Regions from separate parts of the Homo sapiens genome. Here region 2 is linked to region 1. Evidence: promoter capture Hi-C in human tissues and cell types (Jung and others, 2019). All regions are on one chromosome and are shown on one strand. The core of a region is centred on a gene start or on the middle of the fragment in contact, and the rest is flanking DNA. Distances in the headings are between cores, read along the strand shown. Region 1 holds the start of SLC24A2 (solute carrier family 24 member 2). Region 2 has its middle 150 kb from the start of MIR4473.

The links. Contacts are between HindIII fragments. The study calls those that stand out against the background at their distance.
Region 2: a fragment that was not itself captured here is called in contact with the fragment with the promoter of SLC24A2 in region 1 in 2 of the 25 tissues and cell types used here (H1 embryonic stem cells and stomach).

The regions. Positions count from the first base shown.
Region 1 is chr9:19,786,232-19,791,676 of GRCh38, reverse strand. It overlaps SLC24A2 (solute carrier family 24 member 2), which reads left to right and starts at 2,640. Exons shown (of 11, transcript NM_020344.4): 1 at 2,640-2,792; 2 at 4,658-5,445. The coding sequence starts at 4,811. It overlaps LOC124902128 (a long non-coding RNA gene), which reads right to left and starts at 2,518. Exons shown (of 2, transcript XR_007061432.1): 1 at 2,399-2,518; 2 at 617-752. RefSeq lists an enhancer at 3,077-3,724. The HindIII fragment of the contact is 14,556 bases long and covers 1-5,445 here.
Region 2 is chr9:20,259,188-20,264,894 of GRCh38, reverse strand. It overlaps a transcript of SLC24A2 not described here. Among named protein-coding and RNA genes, the nearest start is that of MIR4473, 150 kb to the left of the region's middle. The HindIII fragment of the contact is 9,207 bases long and covers 1-5,707 here.

The sequences.
Region 1 (5,445 bases), core at 1,391-3,890:
GTTATTCAATTCCTCTGCTTCCACGTAGTGTGATTTGGACAAATGACAGGCCCTGCTTTTCTCCATTACTACCAGGATGGAAGTTGTAGCCTTCTCAACTGTTGTGGCAATTAATTGCCAAGTTCTTGGTCAACTGTCAAATCTTGAGTCGAATATGGATCTCATTGAGATGCTTTGGAACTGTGTAGGAGTAGTCACTCCCACAACATTTATCTCCCCCTTCTCCCTTACTAAGAGAGCCCTGATTTTCTAAAAGATGACTATGTGCTCAGTTGAAATACTGTTTACACTCCCTTGCAGCTATGTCTTGTGACCAAGTCGTGATCAGTGAAATGTAAGTGAAGCATTGACAGAATCCCTTCCTAAATAAAAAGACAAAGCCTAGCAAGGAGGCCTTCTGCCTTTCACCCTTCACTCTTTCCCTTCTTCCTGCCTGGAACACAGATGTAATGCAAAAGAATAAACCATTTTGTAGCCATGAGGATAAAGCCATACATTAAGAAAGACAGATCAAAAGATCTGGGTTCCCAGATAGCATCTTGAAGCTATTTTATAAACCCTGGGCAGTCTGCTTTCAGACTTCTTTTTACCATGAGAAAAATAAATTCTTGTTTGGTTTAATCACCAAGAATGAATTTTTATTATGTGCAACCAAGTGCAAATCCCAGCCAATACAATCTATGGACTCATGAGGTCTTCATCTGGATCTCATTCCTCTTCTCACCGAATCAAGACTCAGGGTCATCTCTGAGCTGTAGGGGAAAAACCTGAAACCATAAAAATTCTAGAAGATAACATAAGAAAAACTCTTCTAGACATTGTGATATTCCCCTCCGCACCCCATGTAGCCAGAGGCACCTATTGCCTCAGGGAAGAATAGGATTGTTAAACTAGGAAAGTAGACAAAGGCAGGGTAAAAATAAAGCCTAATTGGTTACCCAGAGGTCCAATTTGTATAGAAAAGGCAAAATAAATGCACAATTGTTTTCCTTTTCCTAAAACAGTTTTGAAAATTATGAGCTGGTTCCCTCTGAACCATCAAGCAATCAATCTGTTCAGTTGTTTTTAAAATATTATCAATTAATAGATATAATCATGTTTGATGTGTTTTAAACAATTGCGATTATCTTTTTTTTTTTTTTTTTTGATGCTCAAATTAGCCCGTCTTTGGTCAGTGACAGCCTATTTGAATTGTCCCCTTCTTGACACAACCCTAGTGGTAGTTGATAGTTTTCTTGCTTTCTGAAAATATTTACAGATAAAATGATATGATGCTCTGGGATTTGCTTCAAAATGATGACATAGGAAAAAGGGGTATAGATGAAATATGACTGTCCATGAGTTCATAATTGTTCAAGCTGGTTATGGCCCCATGGAGATTCATTATACTACTTTCTTACATTTGTATATGTTTGAAATTTTCTAAATTAAAAGTTAAAGATAAAAAAATTCAGTCAGGCACCTATAGTCTGCAAGCACTTGGGAGTCTGAGGCTGGAGGATGGCTAGAGCCCAGGAATTCAAGACAAGCTTGGGCAACATAGCAAGATTCAGTCTCGAAAGGAGAAAGAAAAAGAAAAGTTGAGTCTTGAATGCCTGGCTTTGATTGGGGGGTGGGGGGAAGAAAAATATTTCTAAGTTCCCTAGGCTTCCCTTTACTTATTGATGAGTAGGCCCAGAGGTCTGACTACAGAGCTGTACTCTAAGTCAGAGGTCATGAGCTCTCAGGATATACCCATTACCCCCATTGTAAGGAGGGCATGAAGAAACCCTCTTGGATGGGGGAGAGAACAGAAGGATGGAGGGTAAGGAGAGGGGAAAATGTGCGAAAAGCTTTCAGAGCTTCACGAGTTGGGTACCTCTTGGCAGCTTTGCTGGTGGTCACAGGGTTGGGTAAAAGGGGTTCCCTCACTACCAATTTGTCTTACCACCGTCTTCCATTCTTTGGCCCAGATTCTAGTCTCTCATCCCCAACAAGCCTGATTCTATTTCTTGTGGTCAAGGGGATCTTGCTTTCCAGATAGGACAGGAAGGAGCACTGGGCTGGACATCCCGAGGCCAAAAGCCGAAGCCTGTCAGTGATTCAAAATGACACGGGGTTTTGGGTCTCACTTTCATCACCCATGAAATGAAAGGTCACCCTGCAAGACTGAAGCCCCTGCAGTGTCCCAAGCATCCAAATCCAACACTCAAGAAACCCTGGACCCCAACAGCCTGTCCTGCAGGCCTCCGTGCCTTTTCATTGAACGTCTTTTCCACCATTACACATCACATCGCCTCCTAAAGAAAAGCGCGACTGCTATCACTTTTTGCAGATAATTGGAGAGGCGGTGCCCAGCATAAGATGACCCCAAAGTTGACAGCACTTTCAGGCTTTGTGAATTAGGCGCGTCACCGACCTGTACGATTTCTCCTCTCTGCCCTTGCTCGCCTGCAAATCCTGACCCCCGTCCACACTGCGGAGAAATCTCCTAAGAGACGGCTGCCAGCGTCGCCTCTGCGCCCAGGAGGCGTGGAGCAAAGGACTCGGGAGCTGAGCGCGCTGCGGCCCCGCTCCCAGCGCACAGCGCACAGCCCAGAGGGAGGGGCCGGCGGGGGCCGGGCAGCGCCAGACTCGGAGCGCCGGGCTCACAGCGGCTCAGTCTCCTCCCGAACCCAGCCCGGCTGGCGAGAGCGGCAGCCAGTGCGAGCCAGAGCCCGGGCCTCAGAGCGGGTAGGCGGAGGGCCGGCGGACTGGAGCGGCGGGCCGCGCTCGGGGGCCCCGCCGTGTGCGCGTCCTCCCATCTTATCCTGGTAAGTGCGGGCGGCTGCGCCCCGCCTGCCGCTGTAGCCGCTGTGGCGGTCGTCCCCGCATCCCGGTTGCGCGCATCCCGTTGCTGCTCTGCAGGCTCACAGGTGGCTCTGCCGTGGATGTGGGCGCCCCAGGCCCCGCTAGGAGTTAGCCAACTCTCTGTGCTCCGGGGCGTGGATTTGGAGCCCCCGCCTCTCCTACCCTTGCTTTTGGCTTGGGATGGGGGGCGTGGGGCAGGGCCTGCCGTCGGGGGAGACGCGCAGAGGGGCGCTTCCATTCCCCAGCCACCTACAAACGACTCAGGGGGATGCGGGCCAAGCGCCTCACCAAATGCAACCCAGCTCCAAGCTCACAGGTGGGGCGTCTGTCCTTTAGATTTATTTTCCTATTAATCCACCAGGGAAAGTTTGGGACCACGCAAGGCAAAGTTGGGGCGCGGCTGGGGGCGAACATTCTCCTACGGAGGCAGCTCCCGGGGAGACGAGCGGTGGGTTTTCAGGGGGAGCGAGGATCGGGCTGGAGATGACTTTGCGCCCGGGGAGTTGAATCTGTCCCTGCTGGTCGCCCGGGCCGGGCATTTACACAATCCCCTGAGTGCTGTGAATCGCTTAATCGTTCCTGCTAAGCGTTGACGTTCGCAGCCACCTGGGAATCTCCGTGATGGGGTCGGGTTATCTCAGGAGTAGCAGCAACTCAGCGGGGTTGATTTGTGCTCTTGCTTTGCTCTGAAAACCTGAGCTCCAGCTAATCTCAGTATTTAAGTGGCGTGTGTTTAATTAGCTTATTTTACACCTGAGATTATCTCAGCGACTGCCTCCAAAATGAAATCGTTGATATGGAAAAGAATAGTCTTTTTAAAGAAAAACTAAAAAGAGAACTCTTCAGAATATCAGCTGTCAAGTCTGGCTATTTTACCCATCTCCTCCGTGGGATAGAGAAAGAAAACTCTGCTTTGGATATCTAACCTATTAAAGTCAGTGGTGGGGCTATTTTGGGCAGATTTTGTGGACAGAGGTATTGCTACAACTTGCGTATTGTTTATGAAATACACATGTGGTCTCTCGAAATAGCCTACTTGTTATTTCACTGCATTGGGAGTTCTTTGACTTACTAAGCTGCCTATTTTAAATATGACTAAAGGTTGTTTTTTTAAAAAAAATATTTAGCTGAAAACAATGTCTAGATGTTTAGGGAAGGCAGCTTGTGCATGTCACCAGAATTTTTTTTTGTAAACTTAAATTTGTAAAGGACTACTTTCCCGCATCTGATAAAGGAGAGACTTTTTATGAAAAATAAGATCTGATATCATTATGTGTGCAGAAAAAAGATCACTAAATTAAAGAATCACTCACTTTCCAAATGATAGGTTAAATCAGAAAAAGTTGCCTACAACTGAGAATTATGTAATTGGACCAAAAGTAAACAATGAATAATTGTTAGTTGCCAAGTACCTAGACAGTTCTGAAAGAAGTCTAGGTACCTTTATAGCACTGGAAGGTTATTACATGATTTAAGGTGAGATAATCTGATAGATTTTCACCTGTAAAATTTTTATTCTTACATCTGCCTTCTCTGCACCTAACATTGGATTTACCAAAATATTTATTTGGGTTTATACATACATCTTCATAAGTGCCACATCCCATACTAAGTGCTACATATGTTTTTACTCATCTTGAAAACAATCCTGGGTGGTAGGTACCGTAATTGTCCCCATTTTAAATGAGGAAACTGAGGCACAGAGAAGTTAAGTAACTTACCCAAGATCGCACAGCTGCAGGACAGGACTTTATCATATCTGCAAAGATCTTTATTAAAAAGACGTGATTTTATGATTTACTTATTCTCGTTTTTATTTTTATTTAAGCATAAATGATGAAAGTTTCCTGTGAAGCATAACAATCCCTGATTGTGAAAGTACCCCACAAGCATCGTTAACTATAAAGTAAGGAAAAGTATGAAAGAACCATCTGGTTGAGTCTAAAGTTGGAAGATCACCATATCCACCAGAAGACCCAGGATGGATCTGCAACAAAGCACCACCATCACTTCCCTAGAGAAATGGTGTTTGGATGAGTCACTGTCTGGCTGCAGAAGACATTATAGTGTCAAGAAAAAACTGAAGTTAATTCGAGTCTTAGGCCTTTTCATGGGTCTGGTAGCCATTAGCACTGTCTCATTTTCAATCAGTGCCTTTTCTGAGACAGATACACAGAGCACAGGAGAGGCCAGTGTTGTAAGTGGCCCTAGGGTAGCACAGGGTTACCATCAGAGAACTCTCTTAGATTTAAATGACAAGATTCTGGATTATACTCCACAGCCACCTCTTTCTAAGGAAGGCGAGTCTGAGAATAGTACAGATCACGCCCAAGGAGACTACCCGAAAGACATCTTTTCCCTTGAGGAGAGAAGAAAAGGTGCGATCATTCTGCATGTCATTGGAATGATCTACATGTTCATAGCCTTAGCCATTGTCTGTGATGAGTTCTTTGTTCCTTCTTTGACTGTCATCACTGAAAAACTGGGCATCTCTGATGATGTGGCTGGAGCCACCTTCATGGCTGCAGGAGGGTCAGCCCCAGAACTTTTCACATCTCTCATAGGGGTATTTATCGCTCACAGCAACGTTGGCATAGGCACAATTGTAGGTTCAGC
Region 2 (5,707 bases), core at 2,428-4,927, 470 kb before region 1:
CAGAGATTACACATTTTAGAACTGATAGACCTCTGGAAGGCATTAATACCACCTTCTATGTTTTACAGGCATGTTGTTTTTTACAGGGATTAAGTAACTTGCCTAACTCCTTTAGGCCTCTGTTTTCTATAAAACAAAAAGTTTAGCGTCAGGAAAAAGAGAAACAAATATTAAGCACCTATATTTTACCACAGGTTATTTTTCATATGATCTCAAATATCACAAGGACACTATATAATTTAGATATGATTGATTGCTCTCATCTTCCAGAGGAGGAACCCAAAACTGAGATTGTCTTTTGTCCAAATTTCCATAGTTAGTAAGTGATGGACACAGAATTGAATGCCAATTGTGTTTGATACTTCACCTCCACCTCTTGTCATGCTACCATTCCACCAAGAAAAGATTTGTTTCAGAAGTTCTTGACTTGATGTTTTCTTAAGGAGAATCTTTGGAGAAGGGCAAATTCAGCTGCAACACATGAAGCAGGGGCAGCTGTCCTGACCTTTGGCTTTTTGGTGGCCCTGCCCACTGTGGATGAGATGAACTGAGTTATCTGAGAAAAGGGGATTACTTTGTTCCAAGTACTTTACAAGCAGGAACTCATGTAATCTTCCTCTCAAGGGAACTGTGAAGTAGATACTTATGCTAACCTTATAGGTGTGGAAACTGAGGTGCAGAGAGGTTGTGTCAGAACTGACATTTCAACAGAGGTGTTGTTCCTTTAGTGTCCTTGCTCCTAACTGCCTTTGTTACACCTGAGCATCTCTGGACTCATGCAATGCTTTGTGTTGCTTGGGATGGGGGCCCTCAGGGCTGACTACAATAGAAGTCAGATTGGCAGGAGGAAGAAGCATTGGGTCTCTCTTGTCAAGAGCTAATTATTCCAGATACGTGGGCCAGCTCAGAGGTGCAGAGCAAGAAAGGAAACCATCCAAACTTCTGAGGAAGAGAGGAGATTGCATCTGCCCAGCCAGACATGATGTTCACTTAAAGCCTTCATTGTGTTAGAGCCTTAATGGGGGGGGGGGGGCGGGTGGGATATCCAGGAGGGCACAAGGGAGAGGGGAAGCAGGTTTACTTCCTGCAACAATGGAAGTGTTCAGGATGGGCTTTGTCCCAGTGGCACCAAGGAACATTGCAAGTCTTCCAAAAGGAACACATACTATAGGGTAAAGTTAGTGCTAGCTACTAGTGCTGGCTACTACAAAAAGCATCATTCATGTAAACATGTAGTGCATGGTGATTCAGGACTGCTATTCACATGAAGCACAGTGTGAAGGTGCCCATGGAATTTTGCTGGCTTCCTAATTTTTCACTAGAAAGCATGTGAAGAATCCTTCTCTGATGGATGCAGTGGTTCCTGCCTGTAATCTTAACGCTTTTGGGGGGCCGAGGTGGGAGGATTGCTTGATTCCAGGAGTTTGAGACCAGCCCTGGAAACATAGTAAGACCCAGTCTCTACAAAAAATTTAAAAAATAGCCAGGTGTGGTGCACACCTGTGGTCCCAGTTACTCAGGAGGCTGAGGTGAGCAGCTTGCTTGAACCCAGGAGGTGAAGGCTACAGTAGCCATAATCACATCACTGAAGGCCAGCCTGGGCAACAGAGTGAGATCCTGTCTCACCCCCACCTCCACCAAAAAGAAAAGGATTCTTCTCTCTCTGTCTCCTCCATCCAGGTCTTGGTTAATTTTATTGCTGACTATCCTTCCAGGTTAACCTCAGAACAAACCAGTAGTGAAGAAACATAAAAGTACACATGAGTTTTGAAATGGGTTAGGTATTGGGCTACAAGAAACACCCAGTGATAGCACAGGTGCAGGCTCCAGTGGATTGAGGACAATTCATGAATTTACCTATTCCATTTATCTACCTATTTATTCCACCCTGATTTATTTCTTCTCTCAGGGAACATTAACTGACATTTACCAAGTGCCGCTCTGCCAAGCATTGGGAAGAATAAAACACCATGGTTCCTGTTCTCAAGGTTAGGAAAAAAAAGATTCAAAACCAACCCTGCAGAATAGAAAGGCACACATGGCAGTGGAAAAATGTACTAACTTCAGTGCAGACACCTAGGAGGGCGTGACGAGGGGCAGAGAGTGGGAAGAGAATGGGTGAGAACATTCCAGCAGAAGGAGTTCATTCAGGGAGCCAGGGGGAAGCAGCCAGATGGCAGATTCTAAACAAATTCAGCCGATGGTTTCCATTTTATACAGGCTGGTGCCCAAATATGAAATGAGATAATGCTCATGATAAGGTTTCATAAGTGGAAAATAAGCACCTCCCCAGTTGTAGATATTAGAGGTTATTTCTGGGCTGTACTGAGGTAAATGGGCTTTTAACGCAGGCAGCAGGGCTATGGTTAGCTCTGAGGTGCCAGTGGCCAGCAAAGCTGCTAGAAATCCTGAAAAAATTTCTGCCAGAGAATTCCTGAAAAAATTACTTGTGAGCCAACAATGACCACTTTCCTTTATTGGGCAATGTGCTAGGCACTTGGTCTTCAGTCCTCATGTATAGCCTGGAATAGGTCTGATTATTCTCATGTTATAGACAAGGAAACTTCGGCTGCTGGGAATAACTCATTTGCCAGGGTCACATAGGTAGGACATGCCAAAACAAAGATTCAAACCATGTTCGCCCAACCCCAGTGGAATCTTTCTCCTTTGGGGATGTCAGTTTTATTTGCTTATAAGTAAAACCCTGAGTAAGCTGGAAGCAAGCTTGGTCAGAGAATAATAGTATTACAGCATTATTTCTCTTTTTGGGGCTGCCTTTTCCTATCTGTACAGAGAAAATGTAACATGTTAGCAATGTTGTCTTTTGTTTATGGAGTTATTTAAAAAATGATTTGGTAGCCAGGCACGGTGGCTCACACCTGTATTCCCAGCACTTTGGGAGGCCGAGGCAGGCGGATCACGAGGTCAGGAGATCAAGACCATCCTGACTAACATGGTGAAATGCTGTCTCTACTAAAAATACAAAAACTAGCCAGGCGTGGTGGCGGGCGCCTGTAGTCCCGGCTACTCGGGAGGCTGAGGCAGGAGAATGGCGTGAATCTGGGAGGCAGAGCTTGCAGTGAGCCGAGATCGTGCCACTGCACTCCAGTCTGAGTGACAGAGCGAGACTCAGTCTCAAAAAAAAAAAAAAAAAAAAAAAAGATTTGGTGTTTTCTACAAATTTTCAAAATGGCCAGGCTTTACTTTACCAGTAGAAGATAGTAAACTTTATAGAAAAATGAAAATACAGTTATGATAGTACTGTGGTTTAAATGCATCCCCCAAAATTCACGTGTTGGAAACTTAATCCCCAATTCAGCAGTGTTGGGTGGTGGGGCCTACCAGGTGGTGATTGGGTCATGAGGGCGGCGCCCTCATGAATGGATGAGTGTTGTTATTGTAGGAGTGGGTTAGTTTTGGAGAGAGTGGGCTGTTATAAAGCAAGTCTGACCCTGGCACTCTTCTTTTTACACATGCTTGCTGGCCTATCCTCCCTTTTGCACTTCTACCATGGCATAATGCAGCCTGAAGGCCCTCACTAGATGTCAGCCTGTTGACACTGGACTTCCCAGCCTCCACAACCATGAGCTAAATACATTTCAGTTTTTTTTAAATTATGAAGTCTGTCAATTATTCTAGGTGAAGTAACTCAGGAATGGAAAACCAGACATTGTATGTTCTCAGTCATATGTGGTTGCTAAGCTATGAGAATGCAAAGGCATAAGGATGATACATTGGGCCGGGTGCAGTGGCTCGTGCCTGTAATCCCAGCACTTTACTGCCCGGGCTGAGGCGGGCAGATCACGAGGTCAAGAGATCGAGACCATCCTGGCCAATATGGTGAAACCCCGTCTCTACTAAAAATACAAAAATTAGCCGGGTGTGGTGGCAGGTGCCTGTAGTCCCAGGTACTCGAGAGGCTGAGGCAGGAGAATCGCTTGAACCCGGGAGGTGGAGGTTGCAGTGAGCTGAGATTACGCCACTGCACTCCAGCCTGGGCAACAGGGTGAGACTCTGTCTTTAAAAAAAAAAAAAAAAAAAAAAAGAAAGAATGATACGTTGGACTTTGGGGACTCGGAGGAAAGGGTGAGGGGTGGTGAGGAATAAAGGACTACACATTGGGTACAGTGTACACTCTTCCGGTGATAGGTGCACCAAAAGCTCAGCAATCACTGCTAAAGAACTTATTCATGTAGCCAAACACCACCTGTTCTCCACAAACCTATTGAAATAATAAAAGTAAAAAAATAAAAGCAATGGAGATGGAAAAAAGGAAATTACGAAGTCTGTGGTATTCTGTTATAGCAGAACAAAATGAACTAAGACAGTGTTTTAATCCTGAGCTATGTCATATGGATTTCTATAAAATGAAATTGAAAATTGATATCTAATTGTATTTAGCTACCCAGAAACCAAGATCCCTAGTGTTACAAAAGGTTCTCTACACCTCACTTTAAAAAGTTATTATTTCCCATTAACTTTCTTAATTAGTAGTTTTCTTTTGGATGACTGGCTTCTTAGTCCACTGTTGCTGCTGTATCAGAATACCTGAGACTGGGTAATTCATAATAAACAGAAATTTATTGGCTCCAAGTTCTAGAGTCTTTGAAGTCCAAGATTGAGATGCCAGTATTTGGCAATGGATTTCTTGCTGCATTATTCCATAGCAGGAAGTAGAAGGGCAAGAGAGGGCAAGAAGGGCCAAACCAGCCCTTTTAAAATGGCACTAAGCTCACTAATGAAGTTGGAGCCCTCGTGGTCTAATTGCCTCTTAAAGGCCTCACCTTTTATTTATTTATTTGTTTGTTTTTTGAGACAGGGTCTCACTCTGTCACACAGGCTGGAGTGCAGTGGCACAATCATGGCTCACTGCAGCCTCAACCTCTGAGGCTCAGGTGACCTCCAACCTCAGCCTCCTGGGTAGCTGGGACTACGGATGTATGCCACCCAGCTAATTTTCATATTTTTGGCAGAAATGGGGCTTTGCCATGTTGCCCAGGCTGGTCTCAAACTCCTGGGCTCAAGCAGTCCTCCCACCTTGGTCTCCCAAAGTGCTAGGGTTATAGGCATGAGCCACTGTGCCCTGCTAGGTCTTACCTCTTAATACTGTTACAATGGCAATTAAATTTTAACGCAAGTTTTGGAGGGGCCAAACATTCAAATCATAGCTATTGGGGACTGTTTGAATCTGAAGTCTCTCTCCAGAGGCTTGAGATGATTAAGACTTGAGATGACTACTGGGGACTATTTGGATCTCAAGTCTCTCTCCAGAGACTTGAGATCATTAAGTTTCAGTTGATGTCTCTGACTCTGTCCCAAACAGTAGGCATATAACTCATTCATTCTTTGAGGAGCTTCCAAGGGGTTTTCTTCAACCACTGCTCATCTCCTATCTTGGCTGGGCAGGGTAGGGCGAGTGTGATAAATATATTAAAAACAAACTAATTTTTTTTTGGTTAATAAAATTTAATCCTCCCACACAGCAGTATGATTAAAAAGAATTTTCTCTAGGGCTGGGGTGATGTGATTTTATCAAAATGGTTATAGTAATATCTGTGTGCATTAATTTTCTATTGCTGATGCAACAAATTACCACAAATTGTGTGGCTTAAAATAACATAATCTTTTAATCTTACAATTCTGGAAGTCAGAAATCTAAAATGGGTCTCACTGGGCTAAAATCAAGGTATCAGCAGGGCGTCAATTT